Linked DNA regions of Homo sapiens: all the other regions are linked to region 1. The links are contacts of gene promoters, found by promoter capture Hi-C in blood cells and fetal thymus (Javierre and others, 2016). All regions are on one chromosome and are shown on one strand. Each heading gives the region's core, a stretch centred on a gene start or on the middle of the fragment in contact. The rest is flanking DNA. Distances are from core to core; before and after follow the strand shown. Region 1 holds the start of IFT27 (intraflagellar transport 27). Region 2 overlaps MYH9 (myosin heavy chain 9). Region 3 has its middle 10 kb from the start of SSTR3. Region 4 overlaps IL2RB-AS1 (IL2RB and C1QTNF6 antisense RNA 1). Region 5 overlaps FOXRED2 (FAD dependent oxidoreductase domain containing 2).

The links. The method cuts DNA at HindIII sites, captures the fragments that hold promoters and counts their contacts. A CHiCAGO score of 5 or more calls a contact.
Region 2: a contact is called between a fragment that was not itself captured here and the fragment with the promoter of IFT27 in region 1, in 1 of 17 cell types (M0 macrophages). The highest score is 5.4, in M0 macrophages.
Region 3: a contact is called between a fragment that was not itself captured here and the fragment with the promoter of IFT27 in region 1, in 2 of 17 cell types (naive CD4 T cells and total CD8 T cells). The highest score is 5.6, in naive CD4 T cells.
Region 4: a contact is called between a fragment that was not itself captured here and the fragment with the promoter of IFT27 in region 1, in 1 of 17 cell types (endothelial precursors). The highest score is 6.5, in endothelial precursors.
Region 5: a fragment that was not itself captured here is called in contact with the fragment with the promoter of IFT27 in region 1 in 3 of 17 cell types (M1 macrophages, M0 macrophages and M2 macrophages); the score reaches 6.2 in M1 macrophages.

What each region holds. Positions count from the first base shown.
Region 1 is chr22:36,774,860-36,777,374 of GRCh38, forward strand. It overlaps IFT27 (intraflagellar transport 27), which reads right to left and starts at 1,260. Exons shown (of 7, transcript NM_001177701.3): 1 at 815-1,260. The coding sequence starts at 848. RefSeq lists silencers at 822-881, 1,012-1,061 and enhancers at 960-1,523, 1,302-1,561, 2,089-2,515. The HindIII fragment of the contact is 1,042 bases long and covers 491-1,532 here.
Region 2 is chr22:36,331,858-36,334,372 of GRCh38, forward strand. The region is part of intron 3 of MYH9 (myosin heavy chain 9); the gene reads right to left. Among named protein-coding and RNA genes, the nearest start is that of MIR6819, 46 kb to the left of the region's middle. RefSeq lists enhancers at 1-379, 1-310, 1-3, 224-463 and silencers at 884-973, 1,024-1,073. The HindIII fragment of the contact is 1,732 bases long and covers 390-2,121 here.
Region 3 is chr22:37,221,185-37,223,699 of GRCh38, forward strand. No RefSeq gene overlaps it. Among named protein-coding and RNA genes, the nearest start is that of SSTR3, 10 kb to the left of the region's middle. RefSeq lists a silencer at 1,599-1,738. The HindIII fragment of the contact is 340 bases long and covers 1,086-1,425 here.
Region 4 is chr22:37,175,805-37,178,319 of GRCh38, forward strand. The region is part of intron 1 of IL2RB-AS1 (IL2RB and C1QTNF6 antisense RNA 1); the gene reads left to right. Among named protein-coding and RNA genes, the nearest start is that of IL2RB-AS1, 10 kb to the left of the region's middle. The HindIII fragment of the contact is 3,052 bases long and covers 1-2,515 here.
Region 5 is chr22:36,492,080-36,494,594 of GRCh38, forward strand. It overlaps FOXRED2 (FAD dependent oxidoreductase domain containing 2), which reads right to left. Exons shown (of 9, transcript NM_001102371.2): 8 at 1,554-1,724. Among named protein-coding and RNA genes, the nearest start is that of TXN2, 12 kb to the left of the region's middle. The HindIII fragment of the contact is 608 bases long and covers 955-1,562 here.

The sequences.
Region 1 (2,515 bases), core at 10-2,509:
CTATGGTGAGACGATTACATGAAATATGTGTGCTTCACATGCAGTAAGCACTCAGTAACATGCATATGTGTTTCGCAGTCTATAATCCAAAATATTGTTTTTCTAAATGTGCAGACTGATACAAGGGGTACACTACAAATGTGCATGCCACATATTCACATATTCATCCATTCTAAAAGTATTTATTGAGTACCTACTATGTTCCAGGCATTGTTCTGGGTGCTTGGGATGTATCAGTCAACAAAACAAAGATTCCTGCCTTTGGGAGACTCAACATTTATGCCCTTCTTGGAGTGGGGCAGCACAGTAACTTTGGGTCTTAAAGACAACACACAAGTGCCTTTTGCAAACTCTGGTCACTACACTCAGGTCACCGTTATCAGAGGGGGTGAGGTCGGGGGAAAAATCCCATAGTAAAGACTACCAAAGTCACTGATGCCTAACTTTGGGGTACAGTATATGTTTAGCTGAAGCACTCAAGGTTTGCTTAAGCTTTGTTTGTTTTGTTTTGTTTTAACAAGTCTGCTTCTCCAGAGTTGTAACTAGTGATTTTTTAACGAGTCACCTCAACTGGTGAAGGTGGTCTCAGAGTATGTGACAGGGAGCAGGGGGAAATCCACTGGAGCTGCGAAGTGCCCTGGAAGATCATTCTTCCACGCCTAACGTAATTTACTGTATCAGTAATTGCAGTAACTCGCCTTTGGGAGAGAGAAAGGAAAAGGTAGGCAATTTAGGTGAACAAAAGCTCTGGATGAATTATGAAGGCTCTGGACTCCAGAGACCACCGTATTCAAGCGCAAGTTTTCAGACTCACCTGCCAGGATGCATTTGGCTGCCAGCTTCACCATGGTAACCAACACTCCCGCGAGCCGTACCCAGAGGACAAGAGCGGCTGCTAGAGACGCGAGTGGGTGGGCTTCGGGCCCTGGGCTGGCCTGGGACGGGAAGGTGGGGAGGGGAGGGCTGATCTCAAGGGTCAGTGGCCGCGACGGGACTGGGGATGACCGAGCCCGGCCCTTCTGGGCCGGGGGCGGATATCGGGCGCTGGGGGCGGGTGGGCAGGGGAGGGCTCCAGGTGGGCCCGGCTCGAGGCCTGACACGGCAGTCTGAAAAGGTGCAAGCGAGCGGACACGGCCTGTGCTCCCCGCCCAGCCCCTCAGCACAGCCCTACCCAGAGGGTTCAAGGAAGGACGATCCGGCTCTCCTCCGATCACAAGTACCGGGCCGGATGCACTCTCCAAGCAACCATAGCCCACCTGCCCCGCCTCCTCCTCCTCCTCGCTGACCCTCGATTGGTTGCCGCCAAAAGCTCCCACCCTCAAGGTCTCACAAAAATCCAATGGGAGTAGAGAGCTGGGATAACAGCCTTTTCTTGAGATGCAATTCGTAGAGTTATCAGTTCTTCAAGTTCAGTCTGCTTGACGAGTGGTTGTAATTGACGTCAACCAGCTTTATATCCCGCCCCCGCTGCGCCTGAGAGTCCCGAGATAAAGAAGCCTCCACGTCAAGCAGTCAGAAGCGGTGACAAGAGAAGCTTTCTGATTGGTCAGAGTCTGGCTTGACCCATCTTCGGGAGGAATAGGGATTCGCCACTCCCGCTGTCCTTCTAGAAGTGGGTTCGCCTACAATGGGGCAGGTTGGGCTCTAGGCGGTCTGGAGCGGCGCCTGCGCAGTGGGCCAGGCCGCCGCTGTAGAGGTCGTTTTGACTTGCTCTGACTTCGCGCGGTTCTCGCGGCTTCCCCGGTTCCCGGGTTCTGCACAGCGCGGCTATTAAAGTGCATGGAGAAGTGCAGTCCTTGCCCCGCATCCCGCAGGGAAATCTCATTTTAAAAGCTCAAAGATGTAATGAGCGTTAAAATCTAAAATATGAAGGTGTTTTATTAAAGTGATGTTTGTGAACAAAGGGAGAACAAATACACTTTGATGGGGCTAAGCGGTGAGACTCGGAAACTTGAAGTCGTACTTTGCTCTTAGTCCATTTACTCTCTGCAAAAGGAGAATGCATCACTAACCTCGTTTGCCCGTCACCCAGGGAGGCTCTCTGTACGCGTTTACTGGGTTGGGGGTGCCTCTTGCACGTGGTTAGGGGGTCAGAGACCTAAATCCCTGGCCTGGACAAGTCACCTCATCCCTCAGCCTCAGGATGGGCCTAGGAGAACCCGCCTTGTGGGGTGGTTGTGGAGATGGAAGGAGAGAAACGTATGAGTGCCTGGGAGATAGTAGGTGCACACGTGATTGTGGGGTGGATGGGAGAGCGGAAGCTTATCTGGACAGATTTGGTTTATCATCACTGTCACTGGTTGGCCGAATGTACCCCTTGTTCTCACTTTCTCAGGGCCCCTGGGATTCTGATGGCTGATGCTGAAGGGAAGAGCAGCCCCTCAGCAAAGGTGCCTGTGCGAAAGTTCCACATTCCCTCCAGACACCTAGAACATTCCACCTCTCCGCCACTCTGCATCTCAGAGTGGCTGCCAGCCTTGTGTGGGGGAATAAACACACACACTCTATGAATGGC
Region 2 (2,515 bases), core at 6-2,505, 440 kb before region 1:
AAAAGGGCAGTTTCAGGTTGGACAACATGCCCACGTTGGGTGAGACTGATGGGATAATCTGAGACAAATGGGACCAAAACTTTCCACCACCAGGGAGTCTTCTGCTTTCAGGGAAACTCCAGAGTGGCCCCTGGGGGGTGGCTTGCTATATGTGTTGGCACTGTGAGCCCTGCCCTGCGTTGCCAGGATGGCTTGATCAGAGTTGCACAAATGGGGCTGAGAACTCAGGTCTCTGGAAACCTCACGCACCCCAGGACTCCCCTCCATCGAACACCCCTATGAGCACAGCACTCGGCACCTCCCGCAGGCCTGCCTCAGTGCTGCAAAGAAAGGGCCGCGACACTCTCATGACGAGAAGCTCTGCTTCTCCACAGCCAGCTCAATTCACAAGCTTGGGTTACAAGTCTTTGGGAGGCAAACAGAGAGGTGAAGAAAAGCAAGTGCAAAATGATGCTTCATATTAGCAGAGGCTGCAGATCTGTGCCGAGTGGGGTGGAGCTTCCTGGCAGCCTGCCTGCCTAGCAATCTGCCAGCAAAGGAGGAAGCCCCTTCCGTCGCTCCCAGGCACACAATGTGGTCATGGGCGAGTGTGCCCTCCAGGCCACCACGGTAGGCCCAGACCAAGGGACATGCCTGCTCAGCAGCATCCACACCAGAAGCCAGTTCGACTCGGCCCAGTGCCTCTGCCCCATAGCCCCTGTGATCTCCCAGGTGGAACCTGGTTTGAACCTGCTGAGACCCAAGTCCCCACTTATAGGAGGCAGAGAATGGGTAGCCCTCCCCCTCCAGACACTCTGGATAATTAAAAAAAAAAAAAAAAAAAAAAAAAAAAACCTCAAGGTATTGCTCTTAACTTTCATTATGTCAGACTAAGCGAGGCCCCAAACAAGCCTTCTCTTGGCCAAAATGCATTAGGAAAACACAGGTAAGTTCCCAGCACACAGGCAAATCTGCCAGAAACAGCACTGCTGTTTCTGTGGGTGGGGCCAGGAGGGGGAAACTTCTCCTTCTGGGGTTGTTGCCAAGGCAGCTCCAACAGGTTTGTCAGACTGGAGGGAAATTCAAAACCACATACGAGTGCTGACCACCCACAGCACATGCCACCGGGACACTCCCAGTCCGGTTCCGCCTTGCTCCTACCTAACATTTCCCTTGCGAAAAGGAAAGACAAAGCAGGAGGGGCCCCTGTTGACTTCTGCAGAGGGCTGGATCAACAGGGAATAAGAGGGAAGGAGCTGGGACACACACAGGGAGCATGGCAGACACAGCCAGGCACTGCTCATGACAAACTCAGCTCCCTGTTGGAGCACAAACAGGCCTGCAAAGACAGCAACCAGCTTTGTGAAACTCCTTTTGATGAGTCAAACGTGCTTGAGAGCACCAGGGACATCAATGGTAGGAGGTGAACAGTTAACAGCGCATGAACACGTTGCCTCGGAGGAGCGGTCGGTAGAAGGAAAGGCATGTCGGTGACTGTTAGGCTAGGATTCACTCCTGGAGCACGGCTCACGCTTCCTCTCCTTTCAGCTTAGACCTGTGCCCTGTTGTATCTGTGGACCAGCTCATGTGGAAGAGACAAGATCTTCAGGAAGAATCCCAAAGCCAGGTGGGAATGACATCCTGAGCCCCCATCAGTACTGTCTGTTTGCCAAAAGAAAACCTGGGGTCTCAAGAGTTTATGGAGTTTATGATCAAGGTCCACACGGGGCTGACAGCCTTGGTCAAGACTAAACAAATTTGACAGAAGCCACGTGCAGAATCCCAACTTTTATACCTGCAGCTTTTCAGTTCATTTATCTTTCTTTAGTTGTAGGGAATTACTTTGGTTCTCAACTGATAACTTCATTCCAGAAATCAGGTATGTAAAAGAAAGCAACTCCTTTCTCTGAACACACTGTTGTTCAGCCCTGACAAACTGGGACACAGTTCAACTGAAGTCTCTAAGCCAGAGCTGGAGAGAACAGGAAAAACGGGCTGGTAGGTGACACTCACCAGGCAGCAAGAGAACTCGTCACGGGAGGCCAAAAGCACGAAGTGGCTTAGTGATTAGGGATTTGATGTGAGTTTTTGTTGTTGGTTTATTTCAGGGGATGGGGAGCAGAAACAAAAAACACTGGGCAAAGCTTCCAAACACCCCCACCCAAAATTTCAGGTTCTAAGAGGCCACTTCCTTTTTATCTCCCGCTCAGTGGGCCCAGAGCAAAGCATGGTGGGCCTGTTGGGTTGGATTTACAAAAAAAAAAAAAAGTAAGCCTAACGCTGAATCCTTGAAAAGGGCCCGTTAACTGCAGATTCCTCTTCTAGAAAGAAGAAGTTCTAGAAATGAGACTGACAGGCAGGACCATGGGTAGTTCAGCAGCCTCATGCTGGGGCCGGGCTTTCCTTCCTGGAGGAGCAGCACAAAGCAGCCAGCTCGCATCAGCTCGAGGACAGCGCCTCCCGGCTGCAGCCATGGTGTTGGGTGGTGGCCCAGGGCCTGCTTCCCACAGCACCTGTCTGGTCCACCAGCATCCCA
Region 3 (2,515 bases), core at 6-2,505, 450 kb after region 1:
CCAAGGGCAAGAGTGAAAACAAGAAGGCCAGTCAGGAGGTGTGAGCATTAGGATTGGTGCTCAGTTGGTGCTCAGCAAATATTTCCTTTCCTCCAAGTCTGGGAAGAGTTCCTGTCCCTGCCCCATTGGTGGTGTTGGGCTCGGCCATGTGAAGCATGAGCAGAGGCCTTAAACACCTCATGGTTTGGCTTGGCTTCTCATGCTCCTGTGATCCACAATGAGAAGGACATGCCCCAGGGAATGCTGGTCTAAGGAGGATGAGAGACAGGTGGAGCCGACCCACACACACCCACAGCCAGGACCGAGACCACCCATCCCCAGCCCGAAGCCAAGTCACCAGCCAAACCCTCCTAAGTCAGCAGACCCACTGTCCACCTACAACTAGTGAGTGTGAGAATACAGGCCTGCTGCTTCTTGCCTCTGGATTTCAAGGCAGTTTGGTTTGTTACACAGCATTATTGTACCAATTGCTGACTATGACAGGAGGCTACCACAGGGAGGATACAGTGCTGGTTTGGACATTAGAAACCATGACAATGCAGAGAAGGGGGTCACTGAGGAGATTGTCGGTGATGGGTTGGAAGTGGAAGGTGAGGGAGAAGGTGTCAAGGAGGACTCCCAGGTTTTTGATTTGAGAGCCTGGATGCATTTACTGAGTGATGAAGGCTGGGCGGGGCGTGTGAGTTTGAAATGCTCAGGAGACATCCAAGCAGAAGGGCCATTTCCTGGGGCTCTCTGCTGGCTGGACAGCCTCCCCACTGGCCTGTGAGCTCCTGAGAGCGGGCTCATGCTTGACCCACCCCCAAGCCTTGGGCTTGACACACGGTCTCAATAACTATTTGCTGAAGGATTCAATGATTGAATAAGTCTGTGGTTCTATCAGCATTTTTGACTGCACAGTTGTTTGTAAATGAGGAAAATCCCCAGGCCACCTGGTGGCAAATGGAGTAGAGGCAGAGAGAGGGAAGACAGGAGGCCAGTGAGGAGGCTGTGGCTACTGTCCAGGGGAGACATGGCAGGGGTTAGGTTAGGGAGCAGCCGTGGGGACAAGGGGTGGATTTAATAGACAGAGGCTGAATTGTCCAAGCTTGGTGGCCAGTGAATGCCAGGGTGAAAGGATCGGAGGAGTTTGGGGGACCCCAGGCCTCCGCTTTGAAGAAGGGACAAGGAACAGCCAGTCTCTAGAATAGAAAGCACCAGATGAAGTGGCCTTGTCTGGCAGGCACTTTCCTCAACCACCAGGCCATGATTTCATTGCAAGAAGGGGCGAAGTGAGGCATGGAACCTGCTGCCAGCCCAGGCCTGGCACTAGGTGGGCACTTGGGAGGGGTTGTTGTCACATGAAAGAGCAAACCATGGTGTCAGCTCCTGCCCACAACCGGCAGGTCTTCCTGTTTCAAAACAGGTTCTCATTGACTTCCCATAAGCTTTCTCTTTCCTATATGAGGGGCCTCCATCCTCAGCCAATTTGCAGAGCAGAAACAAGTGGCTCACCCCACTTGGAGTGGCTGCTGGGAACAGTTATACAGTGGGAAGAGCACTGCGCTAGGAGTCCTACCGCTTCAGTGACAAATGCTGTCAGCTTACCGTAACAAAAGGTGTGACCAACGGTGACATTAACAATTGGGTGGTTTCATTTTCTTCAGTTCCCATAACAAGGCAGCTGTTAGCATTGGCTCAGCTGCCCACTGCTGCTGCCAGGAACTCACGCTCCTTTTATCTTTCTGCTCATCCCCTCTCAGCACGGGGCCTTGTATCTTCATGTTTGTGGCTTCAAGCTCACAAGACGGCTGCTGCAGCTCCAGACATCCCACCTGTCATTTTTTTTTTTTTTTTTTTTTTGAGTCTTGCTCTGTCACCCAGGCTGGAGTGCAGTGGCGCAATCTCGGCTCACTGCAAGCTCCGCCTCCCGGGTTCACACAATTCTCCTGCCTCAGCCTCCCGCATAGCTGGGACTACAGGCGCCCACCACCACACCCGGCTATTTTTTTGTATTTTTTAGTAGAGACGGGGTTTCACCGTGTTAGCCAGGATGATCTCGATCTCCTGACCTCGTGATCCGCCCACCTCAGCCTCCCAAAGTGCTGGGATTACAGGCGTGAGCCACCGCGCCCGGCCTGGGCCTGTCATTTTTTTAAGGAAGAAAACAACTTTCACAGAAGCCATCTCTCCCGCTGACTTTCATTCACATCGGCTTCTAGGCCAGAACTATGTGGCCTGAAAACCCCAGTGACAAAACCAGCTGGAAAAACGAGTATTTTGTTGGTGTTAGGTACGGTGCTGCTATGCACAAAACTAGGATTCTGTTAGCAAGGAGGATGGGAACAGAGGGAGAGGGTGGGAAAGGACAGCATCTGCCTTGTCAATTTGAGCCAAACCTGTGCCCTCCCGCATCCTCATCTCCTCTTCTGCAAACCGTGGCTAAGAGTACCTATCTTGGAAGGCTATTAGAACATTAAATGAGATAATATGTGCATGGGAGCCAAGACAATGAGTAAAGGAAGTTATTTACTGA
Region 4 (2,515 bases), core at 9-2,508, 400 kb after region 1:
GGCCCCAGGGTGTATCCGGGCAGATAGGGCTGGGTGAGACAGCCCTCAGAGAGGCAAGGAACTTGTGTACAGGAAGCACCCAGGTGTCCCAAGAGGGATGAGGACCCGGGAGGCGCTGTGGGAGTGAGCATGAATCAGGAGGTATGGGAGTGGGACCCGGAGCCCAGAGCAGATGGGACATTGCCAAACTCGCAGAGGAAACGTGGACATGGAGTGCCCCAGCTCCTCCCTGCTGGCAGGGAGGGGCACTTAGATGCAGCCGCAGGGAAATATCGGGGGGCGGGGAGGAATCCCAGCTGCCAAAATCACATTTCTTTGACTTCAGCCCATGGAAATGCCTAATGGGAGTGAAATTTACTCAGAGAACTAAAGCACGGCCTGTTTTGTATACATCTGCATTTGTGGCATCCATTCCTTCCCACCAGAAGCGAAGAGCAGCCAGCCACCTGCAGGAACCGCCCCACCCTCCCACTCTACTGCTGACCTGCAGAGGGTCACCTCTTTCCTCCACGCGCCTACAGCCAGCCCTCTCCAATGACTCCTTCCTCCCGTGAAGCAACCCTACTTCTGCCGCCAATGCCACCACCTCCAGGCTGCAACTCCACAGCCCACCTGACTGTATGCTACGACCCCAGCCCCCAGGTGCTGGTCACCACCGCCTCCTGTCCTCCTGGGTCTGAAGGCCAGCTGCTCCAAAGCCACGCCAGCTTAGCCCCACGCACCCTTGACTCGTGTCCTGGAAATCCCTCCTTCCTCTCTGGCTCCTGCGGCCACCCGCTGGCCTCACCCATAATGTTCTTGACATCTGTTTCTGGTCATGTTAAGTTTCTGCCTGTGTTTCTCCTTTCCTCCAGACGCACACGTGGCAGTATGTGGCTACTGTGACGGGCCTGCCAAGTGGAGGAGGAGGCGGGGAGAGGAGAGGGGGGCTGCAGGGCCTCCTCCCTGGCCAGAGACTGTTGCTTCTCACTTCGCCCCGCACCTTTCCCACGATGCTCAGAGAGGTCACTCATCGAACCCATGCCATTTGAGCACGGCTGTGTGCCAGACACTGCTAATACCGAGATACATCGTCACGTGGAGTCCTCTATCGGAACAAAGCCAAGACTCACAGAGAGGAAGTGACAAGCCCCGGTCATACTATAGGAAAAATAATGTTGTGCGCCCTGAACCAGGAGCTGGTCTAAGGAAAGGGTGTGCTGGGGTCAGAACCCGCAGCCTGGCTCCAGATTCCATACATGCCGGCGTCTGAGCACTCACCACCTCTCTCAGGCTTCCCCAGCCCTGTCCCGTACACTTAGTATTCTCTGGGACAACTGCTGCTAATTTCACGTTTTCTGTCCCACTGCCACTTCTCCATGGGTCCTGGTTTGGGGTTCTGAAAATAGCCATGCCCCTGCAGCCTTGGATACCCTGAAGTCCTCAGTGGGGTAAGAGAGAAGGGCTTTTGCATCTGATATTACAGATAAGGACAATATGGGGCCCAAAAAGGCTAAACGATTTACCCAGCACCCTCCAGTCCTCCAGCCAAACAAGGGACTCTCCTGGGCAGAGCTGCCACAGGAGCCCACCTCCTGGCACCCCGGCCTGCTGGCTTCCCACTGGCTAACGAAAGCCTTGTGGGAGAAACACCCTGGTAGACCCTTAATCCAAGCTGGACCCCGTCCCCCCAACAACCCCCAGCTGCCCTCCTGCCTCCTCTCTGCTGTTGAATCTCTCACCAACTTCAAAGTCAATTGGGGACATGCCTCCCCCTCCAGGATGACATCATGATTCACCCAGTTTCTAGGCGTTCTATGTCCTCCCCTGGACCATGGCACAGGCCCCCTCACTGCCTCCAGCTTCACCCTCTGCAGCCTGTGCTCCACCTGGCTGCAGAGTGATCTGCCTCTTAAAGGCACCCCAGCACCTAAGAAAGAGGTCAATCCTAGACTTAGCCTGACATTCCAGGCCTTTCCTGTCTCAAACCCCATTCTGCTCTCCTTGCCTCCTTTCCAGACATCTATCCAACCTACTGGTCTCTCCCACTGCCCAGAGCATAGACTACATTGGTCCGCCTGCAACCCTTTCCTCTCATCAGCTCCTTGCCCCATGTCAAGTGCCTTTGAGACTCCTATTCACCCTCCAAGGCCCTTCCCACATGTCCCCTCCACTAAGAAGCCTTCCCAGATCGCCACATAAGAATTATCTACTCCCTTCCCCACACTCCCATGTGGCAGAGGAGCTCCTGCGCTCATCTCCCCAGGAAGGCTGAACACTTCCAGACACAACCTAACCTAGCCCATGAAATGGATCCAGCCCATCTATCCAGACAGCAGGTCACCAGGGACACCATCAAGCTAAAATCCCTGCACCAGCTCTGCCCCTGATTTTAACTCAGGCTCCCATCTAATCACCCTTTCCCCCTTAATCTTCCCTGCACTTGCCCCGGGCCACTCAACAAAACGATGGCAAGGTGGGGGTGAGGTCGCCCTGTCTGGGGTACACTCCTTGTCAGGGGTATTTTTCATTTCCC
Region 5 (2,515 bases), core at 9-2,508, 280 kb before region 1:
CTTCCTGTTTATTTCTGACTCTTAGCATGGAGGCCCCTGGGAGGCCAGGCCATGGCAAGCCTCTCCAAGCGGGTAAGAGAGCAGATGAGGAAGAGGACAGCGGGAAGACTGGGAGGGCAGCAAGGTGGCTGTTTGGCAGGCACCACCTTCTGACAACATCATCCCTTCTGCAGGGGGCTCAGATGCTCAGCAGAATCTGGGGCCAGCACTAACAGCTGCACATCAGCTACAGTAACAGAGGGACGGCTGCCACTATGCCAGCTGGCCGCCTGCTGGGCGGATTCTCTCCAGTCCAAGGCAGCAGCACACAGTGGCCTGTACAGTCAAACAGTGTCTAGAAAGTGGGAGACAGGAGGCTAAAGGGCCTGGGACAATGCATTGGTGGGACCCACAACTCAGGGTGGGAATTCACTCCCTCACACACCCTGGCATTTTTGTTGTTGTTGGTTTTGAGATGGAGTCTCGCTCTGTTGCCCAGGCTGGAGTGCAGTGGCATGATCTCGGGTCACTGCAACATCCGCCTTCCGGGTTCAAGCGATTCTCCTGCCTCAGCCTCCCGAGTAGGTAGCTGGGATTACAGGCACCCACCACTGCCCCCAGCTAATTTTTCTACTTTTAGTAGAAATGGGGTTTCACCATGTTGGCCAGGGCTGGTCTCGAACTCCTGACCTCAGGTGATCCACCCACCTCGGCCTCCCAAAGTGTTGAGATTACAGGCGTGAGCCACTGCACCTGGCCTAAAAGTGTATTTCTTGAGAAGGTGTGCATTTGCTTCTGTGATTTCTATAGCTCAATGATCTCATGAAGTTTGGCCCCAAATTTACATAAGCAGGGCCTACTGGTTGAATATTTTCAGAGATTTTTCTCTCCCACTCTATCTAGGGCCAAAACCATGCATGTCATCTATCTCCTCCTTTGGAGGGTTTTGGCTCCCAGCTTCCCTACTGAGATCCAAGCTTTATTGGAGTGTCTCTAAACAGGCCTCCCATCCTGCTCCAGCTCTGTCTTCCCACCCATACCTGGCCCTGGCGCCTTCCCATGGCGCCTGGCCCTGCTAATCCTTTTGAAAAGACATATTATCAGCTGGGTGCGGTGGCTCACACTTGTAATCCCAACACTTCAGCAGGCTGAGGCAGGCGGATCACGAGGTCAGTTCGAGACCAGCCTGGCCAATATGGTGAAACCCCATCTCTACTAAAAAATAAAAAAATTAGTTGGGCATGGTGGCATGTGCCTGTAGTCCCAGCTTCTTGGGAGGCTGAGGCAGGAGAATCGCTTGAACCCGGGAGGCGGAGGTTGTAGTGAGCTGAGATTGCGCCACTACACTCCAGCCTGGGCAACAGAGCGAGACTCCATCTCAAAAAAAAAAAAAAGAAGACATATTATCCATTATTTTTAGGTGAGTTGTAATTTAACCCACGGCATTGTCGGGAACAGTAGTCTGGGGTTTGGATTTCCAGATATGGGTCCTGAAACTCCACGGGTCTTGGGTCTCTGTGACCTTTCTTCAACCTGGAGCTCAGACCCTTTGTCTTTCTGGGAGCTTAAGTTACCTGCATAGAAGCTTCGCAAATCGGTGTCCAAACAGTTCTCCAGGAAGCGCCTCAGAGGTAGGATGTGCCCGATCGGGGCAGTCCAGTCTGTTAAGAAGTCTTCCACGATGTGATGGATGGCCGTGGGCCGAGGCAGGGGCCAGTGTGCAGGGCGGAACCTCACCTCCTGTTCTGTGGGGAGGAGAGAGGGGGCCATGTCAGAGCTGTGAGGCTGGGCTTCCCCTCCTCGGGCCGACACAGCACGGATCCCACACAGCCCAAACACTTCCCTCGTTCACTCGTGCTCGGCTTTCCCGACAGCCTCCTATGCTGGGCTGTGGTCAGACTGTTCAAGAGCCACCTGCAGATATTTGAAAGGCTGCCATGAGGAAGAGGAACTAGGCTTTTCCCTTGTGGTTTCGGAAGGCAGTGCTGAAGCTAACAACGTGAGGCTGGCGTTTCCCTAAGACTCACATGGACTGAGATCTACTGTGGCTGCTTTTTATTTTGTATTATTATTTGTTGGAGACAGTCTCGCTCTATTGCCCAGGCTGTCATGCAGTGGCACAATTTAGGCTCACCGCAACCTCTACCTCCTGGGTTCAAGCGATTCTTGTGCCTCTGCCTCCAGAGTAGCTGGGATTACAGGTGCCCGCCACCACACCGAGCTCATATTTTACATTTTTCGTAGAGATGGGGTTTCTAGTCTCTACCATGTTGGCCAGGCTGGTCTCAAACTCCTGACCTCAGGTGACCCACCCGCCTCAGCCTCCCAAAGTGCTGGGATTACAGGCATGAGCCACTGCGCCTGGCTGTGGCTGCTTTCAAACTGGCCTTTCTCTGAGAAGACTCAGATAGAGGCGAGGGGTCTCAGCACTCATCTAGTTCAGCTTCTCCCTGGTGTGGGCTCCCTTCTGTGGTGTTCCAGTCAGATGGCCATCGAGTCAAGACTTGGCCGTCGCTATTCTGGGAAACCTGAATTT